Linked DNA regions of Homo sapiens: all the other regions are linked to region 1. Evidence: promoter capture Hi-C in 16 types of primary human blood cells and fetal thymus (Javierre and others, 2016). All regions are on one chromosome and are shown on one strand. Each heading gives the region's core, a stretch centred on a gene start or on the middle of the fragment in contact. The rest is flanking DNA. Distances are from core to core; before and after follow the strand shown.

Region 1 (3,568 bases), core at 563-3,062:
GAGGAGAGCAAGGTGGGAGCAATGCTTAACCCCAAGGGCTGTCTGGCTTTGATGACATTTGAGGCATCAGTGTGGGGAAAGTGCAGCCACTACATGAGAGGCTGACTTCGAAGCTGGCCAAAGGGGATACCCCTGGACCTGGGGCCTCCATTCTGCCTCAGGAGGATCTGGACAGACAGTGGGGGGTTAACACTCTGGCTTGCATCTGGCTGGGCAGGCTCTCCTCTGACTGCCTCTTCCTCCCACCCCTAGCCCTGGCTTCTGCCTGGGGAGCAGCCCTCAGAAGGAATCTCTGCTGCAGGCTCAGAGATGCTAGGACACCTCAGTCCAGCTGTCCAGCCTCCTCTGCCACCTATCCTATTCCATTTCATCTTCCCCCTCAACAAGGCCTCTGGAGAGACCTGGCAGAACCGGGCCCTTGGACTTCCCCTGTCTAAACACAGCCCCCTTGTCTTTCTCTTCTTTCCTCATGGTCTCCCCTTCAGCCCCGAAGCTTTGCTTTCTGCCTATGGCTAACCCTTCTCCCTTCCCCTCTCAACTCTATCTCCTCTCTCTCAGTGAGGCACTTTCTTTCTGTGGACCCACTCTTCCCTTTCTCTCTCACCTCACCTGCAGCCCGCTCTCCTCTACCCCCAAATAATTTTCTGCTCTTTTCCCCCCAGGTTTCCCCTCTCATTTTCTTCCAGGACTCCTCAGAAGCAAATCTATTATGAGCCCACTGACTGGTCATGAACAGTGCCACCCTCACTTTCTATGGCTGCATCTGCTACCGCCACAGTTGGGGCAGGGCGTCCCTTACGCAGTCAGGAGCAGACCCTGCCCCTGGACACAGCTCTGCAACACCAAACCCTCTTTCCATTTTCCTCAAGCACTGCAAACCACCATAAACCACCACAAAGCCCAGAATCTCCCCAACCGATGAAACCAGAATTTGCAAGAAAAAGAGATTCTGAGCTAGCCCCAAGCAGCCCCGGGGGTGGGGGGCTGTTTGCCGGCTGTTGCCGTCCCCCACCCCACCCCCCAAACAGCCACCCAAGTCCTCCGTAGCTCCTGCCTGTGGGCTGGAACAAGCAGTGGCTTGCCCCTCTCCGTCCCTCTGCCAGCAAGTCCCTGGCGTTCTATAAGCTGGTTGACCCCCTGAACTTTCCCTGCCCAGAAGCGCCCACTCCTCAGCAGGGCCTTGGAAGCACGTGTGTGGCCGATGAGGAAGGTGCCCACCGGGGAGGGCACACACTCAGCGCACAGCCACTCCGCCCGTGCCTTGGTGGTGGCGGGTAGGGAGAGAGGCAGGGCACCCTGGCTGAGCGGGGGCTCCTGCCTGCAGGTGGCTCAGTGTTCCCCTCCGTGCAATGGGGTGAGCAGCCCTCCGTTTCCCAGGGAAGCCTGGCAGTCCCGGTGCAGCTGCAGGGCCGCCACCGGCCTCCGCCCTGGCGCCAGGGCCCAGTCCGTGCGCAAAGGCGGTTCGTCCGCGGCGGGAACGCCGGGCCAGTGCAGCCGGCGCGCCCAGGCTGTCGGCTCCGAGGGGCCGCTCCCGGCCGCCTGGCCGCCGAGCCCCCGCCCCAGCCCGTCCCGGGCCCAGCGCCGCGGCCGTCGCTTACCGTGGGAGGGCAGCGCCCGGCGGCGCCCGGCGCGGTCATACGGGCAGCTGGGTCCCGGCCGGGCGCGTCGGCCGCCCTCGCTCGCTCGCTCGCTCGCTGGCTGCTGCGGAGTGGGCGCCCCGGCCGAGGGCCGCACCGCTGTCCTGGGATGCGGAGAGCGGCTCTGGCGCCGAGAGGACCCAGGCAAACTTTCACTTTCCCCGGGCCGAGCCTCACTGGCCAGCCCTCGGCACAGCCTTTTAAGAGAGGACTGGGGGGCATGTGGTTTATGGGAAATCACCCTGGCCAGGCGCCAGACACACACATACACACACACACACACACACTGACACAGACACACACACTCCAGAGGCCCACTCAGCCGCCTTCCCCCGCCTCCCCTCCCCCACCCGCCGGCCGGCCAGCCCCGCTCGCGCGTCTTCCTAGTCACCCTCTGTCTTCTGCGCTGCACTTCCAAGCCTTCAGCAAACGAGCGCGGGCTCCACCGCGTCCCCACCCTGCCTTCCCCGCGCCCTCTGCGGACCGACCCTTTCCTTCCGCGCTCTCCAGGCTGATTCAGTGCTAGCGCTCTATGATCGTCCCAAGGGACTTTCCCTCCAGGCCTGAAAATCCCCAAATCTTAGCAGAAAACGGACCGAGAGCAGGGACAAGCACTGGGAAGGGAGGGAAATCCTTTGAAGACGCCCCCACCCCATTCTCGGAGTGCCGAAAGGAGTCCAGTGTTACTTGCTCCCTCGTGGAGCCTGAGTCAGCAGGTTTGCCGGCAGCCCCCTTCTTCCTCTGCAGCCCCCAAGCAGCCCGGCCAGCTTCAAGTCCCATTCTGGGAGGGAGGCCAGCTACCTGGCCAGGAAGGGAGCAGCTGTGTCCTGTGACAGCAAGCTGGGGGGCTCTTCCCTGGGTGCCAGCAGACACTTCAAGGCACCTGACCCTTAGATGATGAAAATGCTGGCTGGTACCCATGCTCTCTCCTGGAGGCAAAATCCAACTCAGATTGGAAAGGTCCTGCACCTGGACCCTAGATTTCCCTGGATGTTTTTGGAAATTGCACTTACTGAGGTGATTAATCACGTTTTGTTTCTACATGAGAATGAGTCTAAGTGAGGACTAGTAGGATGAGCCTAAGCCTATTAATTATAATGCCAACTTCAGGAGATTTTTCTTTCTTCAATTCATTATGATTCAATTCCTCTGTGAGGTTGCCCGTTTCCACCCCCTGGGAAATAAAGGATATGTGGCCTGCTCTTGAAGAGGAGTCTCTTGTCAGTAGCGCTACATATCCTTCACTCCAATCCTAGGCAATAATTTTACACCCGAATGCCTTTGCTCAGACTGGTCCCTCTGCCTGGAATGCTCCTTTCTCCACATGGCTGAAGACAAACTCCTCATCATTTCAGGCTGAAATTGCATCTCATCCTCCACCAGCAAAGCCTTCTGTGACTCTCCTGGCAGAGCAAAGGGTCCTTTTCCTGTGTTCCCATTGGACTTGGCTCATTCCTCAATGCTGGCTCTGATAAGTCATTTGCCATCCATTCATTCTCCACAGTACTTTTCGAAGTGTTTAAGGTGGTACCGATGGTTACATTCTGTCCCCACCCTAGACCGAGACTTCTTCCAGGTGGCACCCATGCTCAGTCACCTCTGGATCAATGGTACCTAGCACATAATAGGTACCAAGTTAATGATGGCTGAGTTGAATGATGCCATTAGAGAATACTTTGTTCTTTTGACAAATATGTGCTACCAGATGCTAGGCACCGTGCTGGGCCCTGGGGATACAACAATGACATGGTCACTGTACAATAATGATTTCAGATAACATGTTGACACCACAGTTCTTAAGACTGATAAAAGGTTAGAGGAAGTAACCTGAGAAAGATAAACCAACAGACTTGTTGAGAAAGGGGTCCAGTTTTACTTGCTCCTTCCTTCACCAACCCAGCCCTGGCCCAGGTTCACTGAGGCTGGCATTT
Region 2 (3,568 bases), core at 524-3,023, 320 kb after region 1:
CAGTGGCGCGATCTCGGCTCACTGCAAGCTCTGCCTCCCGGGTTCATGCCATTCTCCTGCCTCAGCCTCCCGAGTAGCTGGGACTACAGGTGCCTGCCACCAAGCCCAACTAATTTTTTTTGTATTTTTAGTGGAGACGGGGTTTCACTGTGTTAGCCAGGATGGTCTCGATCTCCTAACCTCATGATTCACCCGCCTCGGCCTCCCAAAGTGCTGGGATTACAGGCGTGAGCCACCGCGCCCAGCCTAGTCTGATCTTTTTACCAGAGATACAGAAACTGTGACTAGGCTGTTATCACATAAACTGAATAGCAGAGAAAGCTGGTTAGGAAAGAAAGAATAATAAAAAAGATACACAGAGAGGAGAGAAAAAAGATGGGGATAAAGAGTGCTTCCAGGGTTCCTGACAATTATTTCCTAGTTCTAATTCCATTCTAAGACCTGTCCATTCTTGCCCTTGGGTTCTATGATATATCCCTTAATCCCCATCAAAAGTTTTTATTTCCATCCTGAGTTCTTACTAATTCAAATCCCCTACTATCTATCTTTATTATTTATTGCATAATCTTTCTCAAGCACAGTTTCTTCTATATCATGCACCCCATGATATGGATCATGGTAGGATATTAAACCTTTAACTGATCATCGTCTCAGCATGAGATATAAGGCCCTCCATGAGTTGATCTCTGACCATCTCTCCAACCACTTCTTCCCTGCCACTGTAAACTCTAGTAATACCAAATTCCTTCTGGGTTCCACAACTGGTCATACCATTTTCCTACCTCCATATTCTCATATATGCAATTCCTCTTTTCTAAAATGCTTTTATTCCCGTCTGCCTGATGATTTCTATTTCATCCTCTTAGTAGCTCTAGAAAAAGACTACAGTGACCCCATCAGAAGTAACCACTTCTATTCCACTTCTATTAATGCATATTTTACACTATAATAAAATTATTTATGTGCAATTAAACACTATAATAAAATTATTTATGTCTCTCTGCAACTACATGTCAGTCTCTTGGGCACAATGATTAAAATTTACCCTTGTATTTTCTTCAACATATACCAAATTTTACTTTATTTTTTGTGAGGCAGGGGGGTGTCACTATGTTGCCTAGACTGATCTCAAACTCTTGGGCTCAAATGATCCTCCTGCCTCAAGCTTCCAAGTAGCTAGAATTATAGCCACCATGCCCAGCTCCCAAATTTACTTTTTCTCCTTTTGTATTTTCCTCAAAAAATGAAGATAGAAATTTAAAATAAACACAGAAAACTCAATTGTGTCTGATATGGCACTCTTGACTTAGGGGCTTTTAATCACAGGCTTAATGCCAATGCCACTACCACTGAATACTCTCCCAATCAATCATTAAAAAAAAAAAGGCAGTTTTATGAATGCCACCAAAGTGTTGATCTAAGTAAGATGTGTACCTCCAATAAAATCTTTCATAACCCCTTACCTGTGTATTCTGGATAACAGATAGTTAACGGACTCCTCTTTATTTTTTCCTCAAAAAGGTCTTTCTTGTTAAGGAAGAGAATGATTGAAGTTTCTGTAAACCATTTGTTATTACAAATGCTGTCAAACAGTTTCATGCTTTCATGCATTCGGTTCTGAAAAAGAAATAAAGGATGATAGGTCAGTAGCAAATAGTAAAAGTGGATTAAGTTAATGAAAAAGACAAACCAACAAGTTTTGCAGCACTAAATGGCATTCACGGAAATAAGTCAAACACCAATAAGATAAAGTTGAGTGTCAGTCCTCATTTTTGTAATTTTTGGGGGAGAGGAGGTAGGAGGAAGGGCTGGCTAACATCCTTTCCACATACTCAAGGTGGCTATAACATCTTTTTTAGAGTAATAGGGCACAGATCAAAAAAATTAAAGATACTAAGTTTTGGTTGAATGAGGAAATGGATGCAGATAATCTTCCTAATAAGTTATTTTCCATTTCCTGGCTACATTAGACAGGCTTTTTACCAGAAGCTCCAACATACCATCTCCTCGTCCTCAGCCAGAACAAGGTCATAATCACTGAGGGCCACACAGAAGATAATTGCTGTCACTCCCTCAAAACAGTGAATCCACTTTTTTCGTTCTGATCTTTGGCCACCTACATCAAACATCCTGCGCAAGGGGAAAGAAAGCAAATTCAGCAAGGTCACACATACACCTTCCCCTAAACTGAAATGATTAGGAAACTTCCCACTATTACATATTCAAAACTTCATTTATAATAGAAGAAAAAGAATAGATTAAATGCAGTCAAAATAATTATCCTGGCTAAAAGTACAAGACAACAACATGAGAAAATAAAACTTGTGAATAATCTAGATTCTCATTTTAGATAGCTGAGCCTCTTCTCTATCAAAGCTTGTACCAGATGTGTGAAAAGTCAGCAGAATAAGCACTGAAATGGATTAAAGGAAGGAGGGGAAAAGACAGGAAAAGCAAAGAGCTAAATAAAACAGTTTGAGATAATAATAATAATGGTATATTTATTGAGTGCTTACCATGGTGCCAGACACTACTACTAAACATCTTAACTCATTTTGCCCTTGTAACACTCCTAGAAGTACTATTATTATTATCCCAATTATACAGATAAAGAAATTGAGGCACATTCAATGTTAAATGATTTGCTCAAAGGTACACTACTAACAAACAGGGACTGGGGATCTGAACCTAGGCACTCTAACTCCAGCACCCATGTTCTGACTCTCAAAATGGTTTGCCTCTAAATGCCCTATTTGCACTCTGCTTCCATAACTTCTCCCTATTAAGTTTGTTTTCCTTACCTTAAAAAAAAAATTAGAGATTAATTGTAAAAACAAATAAATTATATTTTTATGGTAGGATTCTATGAACCCAATAACTAAAAAACAGCCTTGACCAATATTTCCAAACTCCGAGTCTTACTTAAACCTAATTAATAAAGTCTCAACTGTTCACAAACTTTATGTTACACTCCATATTAGTTTTAGTCCAATACTGTCTTCTGGGTGACTTACTTGGTATTCTGAGTCAACTGCTGAACTTCTATCAACAGCATCCTCAACTACCTCCTATAGTAAAAAGATCTGCACTGCTTTGTGTTTTAGCTGATACTTAGGTCTAATGATGTACACATGCAAATTGTTACTTGTGATCGGTGTTTGAAGAAAATGACACAATTTTTAAAGGCTAAACTCTGCCAAACTGGTTTAATGTATAAGATCTATAGTGACTAGAGGCCTACATTTCCAGAGATGTTTTCCCCCAGAAATTGAAAGAAATAAGACACAGTTGGTGATTTCTCAATGTATGCTTGAAAGGAATTATCTCTTTATGACCCAACTCTTCCTTTGGGTTGATCTTGCACGATTCTTTTTGACCTTTGGTCATGACACCTGAAATGATGTAATCACAAGTTGGCTTTAATATAGGGTCACAATACAGGTTTTAGGAAGGCTAACATCATATATTTCACCATGGAGGTCTCAAGGGGAGACACACCAGTAACTTCAATTTACTCCCCCATTTTCTTCTACAAAGTCTGTATAACACTGTGAAGTTCCAAGGTGGG
Region 3 (3,568 bases), core at 1-2,500, 260 kb after region 1:
TTGAATCCTCCAAGACCCCTCTTTTCTGTGTGATTTGCAGGAGCATTGATCTTGGTGACGCTACTGGGGTTAGCATGGTGGCCAGCTAAAGTATTACTAGAAATTCTGGGTCTTTGTGCATTGAATGGTGGTCTACTTTTATTACAGCTATTTCCTCAGGTAACAGCAAAGCAGCTGAAAGTTTTATTTTTAATCCGTCATCCAATTTTTGCAGATTTTTGTGGAGGTTAGAAAACTCTTCATTTCCAAAGCATTCCCAATTCACAGACTCCCCAAAAGTGCATCTGCCATTAGTGTATATGCTTACTCTTTTACACTTTAGCAGCCAGCAGACCCAGATGCAGGCAATTATTTCAGTCATTGGAGCTGATTTAATTTCTGGAGTGGTCTCTACTTTAAGGGTGAATTTAGGTCTGTGATAGCATTTTAAAATATGAACAAATAAAATCAGGTCAGGGCTATCCAAGGGAATTTCTAACAAGATGTTTTAAGAGCATGTGAAAAACACTGAGAGTTAACAGAATAATTTGGTGAAAAAAAATAACCTCTAGTAATCTGGGTGCAAAACAACTGAGTCATTTTACATGACAGAGCCAAATCCTAATTTTACTCCTTTGGTACATAATTTTCTAATAGATTATAATAAAGGCTCTATTAATATTCCTTTATTTGTATGCATTTAGGCATACACAGATATATAAATATACAAATAGGTAACAAATTAAAGCTTTCTTTTTTAAGTTGTAATAAAAACACTTAAAATGAGATCTGCTTGTTACCAGTGGAGGGCGTTCAGGTTCTTCGCATTTTGAACAAAGAACTGGACAGAACGCACAAACAAAACAAGGAGCAAACAAATTTTCATTTATTGAAAATGAAAGTACACTCCACAGGGTGGGAGCAGGCCAAGCATAGGGGCTCAAGAGCCCGGATTCAGAATCTTTTGGGGTCCAAATACCTCCTAGAAGTTTGCCATTGGCCACTTGGTGTTCACCCCATGCAAATGAATAGTGGTCCACAATCAGAGGCTGAAGTGAAGTTACAAAGTTACACTTCTATGCAAATATCTGATTGGCTGCAGAAAGCAACCAATCAGAGGAACTGTCCATTTTCCATCTGCAGAGCAGAAAAGCAGGGGGTTTGCAAAGGGAGTAGCTTCTGGTCCTTTTGTTACTTAGGCATGGAAAGTTGGGATTTTCCTTTCGATTTAGCTCTAGAAATTCAGTGTGAATCAGCCTTAGGTTCCCTGCCTCCAGACCCTATTCTCCTGCCGCATACTCTCTTAACAAATTTTTAAGTAAACAGGTACACAGTATTGTTAACTATGAGCACGGTGTTGTATAGCAGATATCTAGAATATGTTTATCTTGTATAACTGAAACTTTATACCTCTTGAATAGCAACTCTCCATTTTGTTACCGAAACACCAGGGATTCAGTCTGAGTCCTGCTGTTTGCTGCACAGATAGCCAACGGCTGAGATGATTACTGCCAAGGAAGAAGGCTTTAATAGAGTGCTGCAGTAGGGGAGATGAGAGATCAGTCTCAAATCCATCTCCCTGACTGGCTAAAATTAGGGGTTTATATAGCAGAGAAAAAAATGTAACAATGTATGGGAAAACAGGAATTCTGAAGGGCTAAGGAAGCAATCATGATGAATGAGGGGCCTGGCATCTCATTGTCTGGATGTGATGATCTGGTGAGTTTCCGTTCTTTGATACCTTCTGAGAGGCCTGGTATTTAATTGTCTGGATCTGGTGAGTTTCAAGCTTTAAGTTTATTTTTTAAAAACTGTCTATGTCCAGGCGCGGTGGCTCACGCCTGTAATCCCAGCACTTTGGGAGGCCGAGGCGGGCGGATCACGAGATCAGGAGATCGAGACCATCCTGGCTAACACGGTGAAACCCCGTCTCTACTAAAAGCACGAAAAATTAGCCGGGCGTGGTGGCGGGCGCCTGTAGTCCCAGCTACTTGGGAGGCTGGGGCAGGAGAATGGCGTGAACCCGGGAGGCGGAGCTTGCAGTGAGCCGAGATCGCGCCACTGCACTCCAGCGTGAGCGACAGAGCGAGACTCCGTCTCAAAACAAAACAAAACAAAACAAAACAAAAACTGTCTCTGGACAGTTGGATTGGTTTTAATTTCCTCCTCTCCCGATCCCCTGAAAACCGTCATTCTACTTTGTTTCTATGAGTTGGCCTATTTTGGATACCCCATGTCAGTGGAATCATGCAGTATTTGTTCTTCTGTGACGAGCTAATTTCACTTAGCATAATGTCCTCCAGGTTCATCCATAGTGTTATATATTGCAGAATTTCCTTCTTTTTAAGACTGATTAATATTTCACTGAATGTACATACCAAATTTTCTTTATTCATTCATCTGTTGATGAATAGTTAGGTCATTTTCATGTCTTGGATATTGTGAATAATGCTACAATGAACAAAGGACTGCTAATATCTCTTTGGGATCCTTCAGTTCTTTTGAATATATACCCAGAAGTGGGATTGCTGGATCATTTGGTAGTTCTATTTTTCATTCTTTTATGAACCTCTATATTGTTTTCCACAGTGGCTGCACAATTTTACTTTCCCACCAACCGTGTACAAAAGTTCCAATTTCTCCTCAACAGCACTTGTTACCAGTTGGGAGCTTGTCTCACTTTCTTTACCTTTTTTTTTTTTTTTTTTTTTTTTTTTTTTGACAATAGCCACTCTAACAGGTGTGAAGTGATATTTCATTGTGGTTTTGATTTGCATTTCTCTTATGATTAGTGATGTTGAGCATCTTTTCATATACCTGTTGGCCATTTGTATGCTTTCTTTTGAGAAATGTCTATTCAAGTCCTTTGCAAGGATGGCTCATCATATGTAAAACAATTAATGTGACACACCACGTTAACAAAATGAAGGATAAACATCAAATGATCATCTCAATAGATGCAGAAAAAGCATTTGACAAAATTCAACATCTTTTCATAGTAAAAACTCTCAACAAACTAGGTATAAAAGGAATTTTCCTTGACAAAATAAAGACCATATATGACAAGCTCACAGCTAACATTATACTCAACAATGAAAAACTGAAAGCTTTGTCTGTAAGATCAGGAACAAGGCAAAGAATACCCGCTCTTGCCACTTCTAGTCAACATAGTACTGGAAGTCCTAACGGAGCAATTAGGCAAGGAAAAGAAATTTAAAAGTCATACAAATTGGAAACGATTAAGTAACACTATCTCTGTTTGCAGATGACATAATCTTATATGTAGAAAACCCTAAAGACTCCACACACAAAAAAAAACTTAGAATGAATAAACAAATTCCATAAAGTTGCAGGATACAAGATCAACATACAAAAGTTAGTTATGTTTTGGTACACTAACAACAAAGTATCCAAAAGAAAATTACAAAAAACAATCCCATTTGCAATAGCACCAAGAAGAATAAAATACTTAGGAATAAACTCAACCAAGGAGATGAAAGACTTGTATGTAACACTGATGAAAGAAATCAAAGAAAACTACATAATATTGATGAAAGAAATCAAAGAAGACACAAGTAAATGGAAAAAC

The links. Contacts are between HindIII fragments. The CHiCAGO score rates a contact against its expected background, and 5 or more counts as called.
Region 2: a fragment that was not itself captured here is called in contact with the fragment with the promoter of CSF1 in region 1 in 1 of 17 cell types (erythroblasts); the score reaches 6.0 in erythroblasts.
Region 3: a contact is called between a fragment that was not itself captured here and the fragment with the promoter of CSF1 in region 1, in 8 of 17 cell types (M1 macrophages, M0 macrophages, M2 macrophages and 5 more). The highest score is 14.7, in M1 macrophages.

The regions. Positions count from the first base shown.
Region 1 is chr1:109,909,093-109,912,660 of GRCh38, reverse strand. It overlaps CSF1 (colony stimulating factor 1), which reads right to left and starts at 1,812. Exons shown (of 9, transcript NM_000757.6): 1 at 1,599-1,812. The coding sequence starts at 1,637. RefSeq lists enhancers at 426-525, 602-1,102, 1,103-1,603 and silencers at 1,389-1,498, 1,549-1,718. The HindIII fragment of the contact is 10,099 bases long and covers 496-3,568 here.
Region 2 is chr1:109,584,778-109,588,345 of GRCh38, reverse strand. GNAI3 (G protein subunit alpha i3) reads right to left here. Exons shown (of 9, transcript NM_006496.4): 6 at 2,001-2,130; 7 at 1,464-1,617. Among named protein-coding and RNA genes, the nearest start is that of MIR197, 12 kb to the left of the region's middle. The HindIII fragment of the contact is 1,211 bases long and covers 1,168-2,378 here.
Region 3 is chr1:109,647,060-109,650,627 of GRCh38, reverse strand. No RefSeq gene overlaps it. Among named protein-coding and RNA genes, the nearest start is that of GSTM4, 7.3 kb to the left of the region's middle. The HindIII fragment of the contact is 1,041 bases long and covers 730-1,770 here.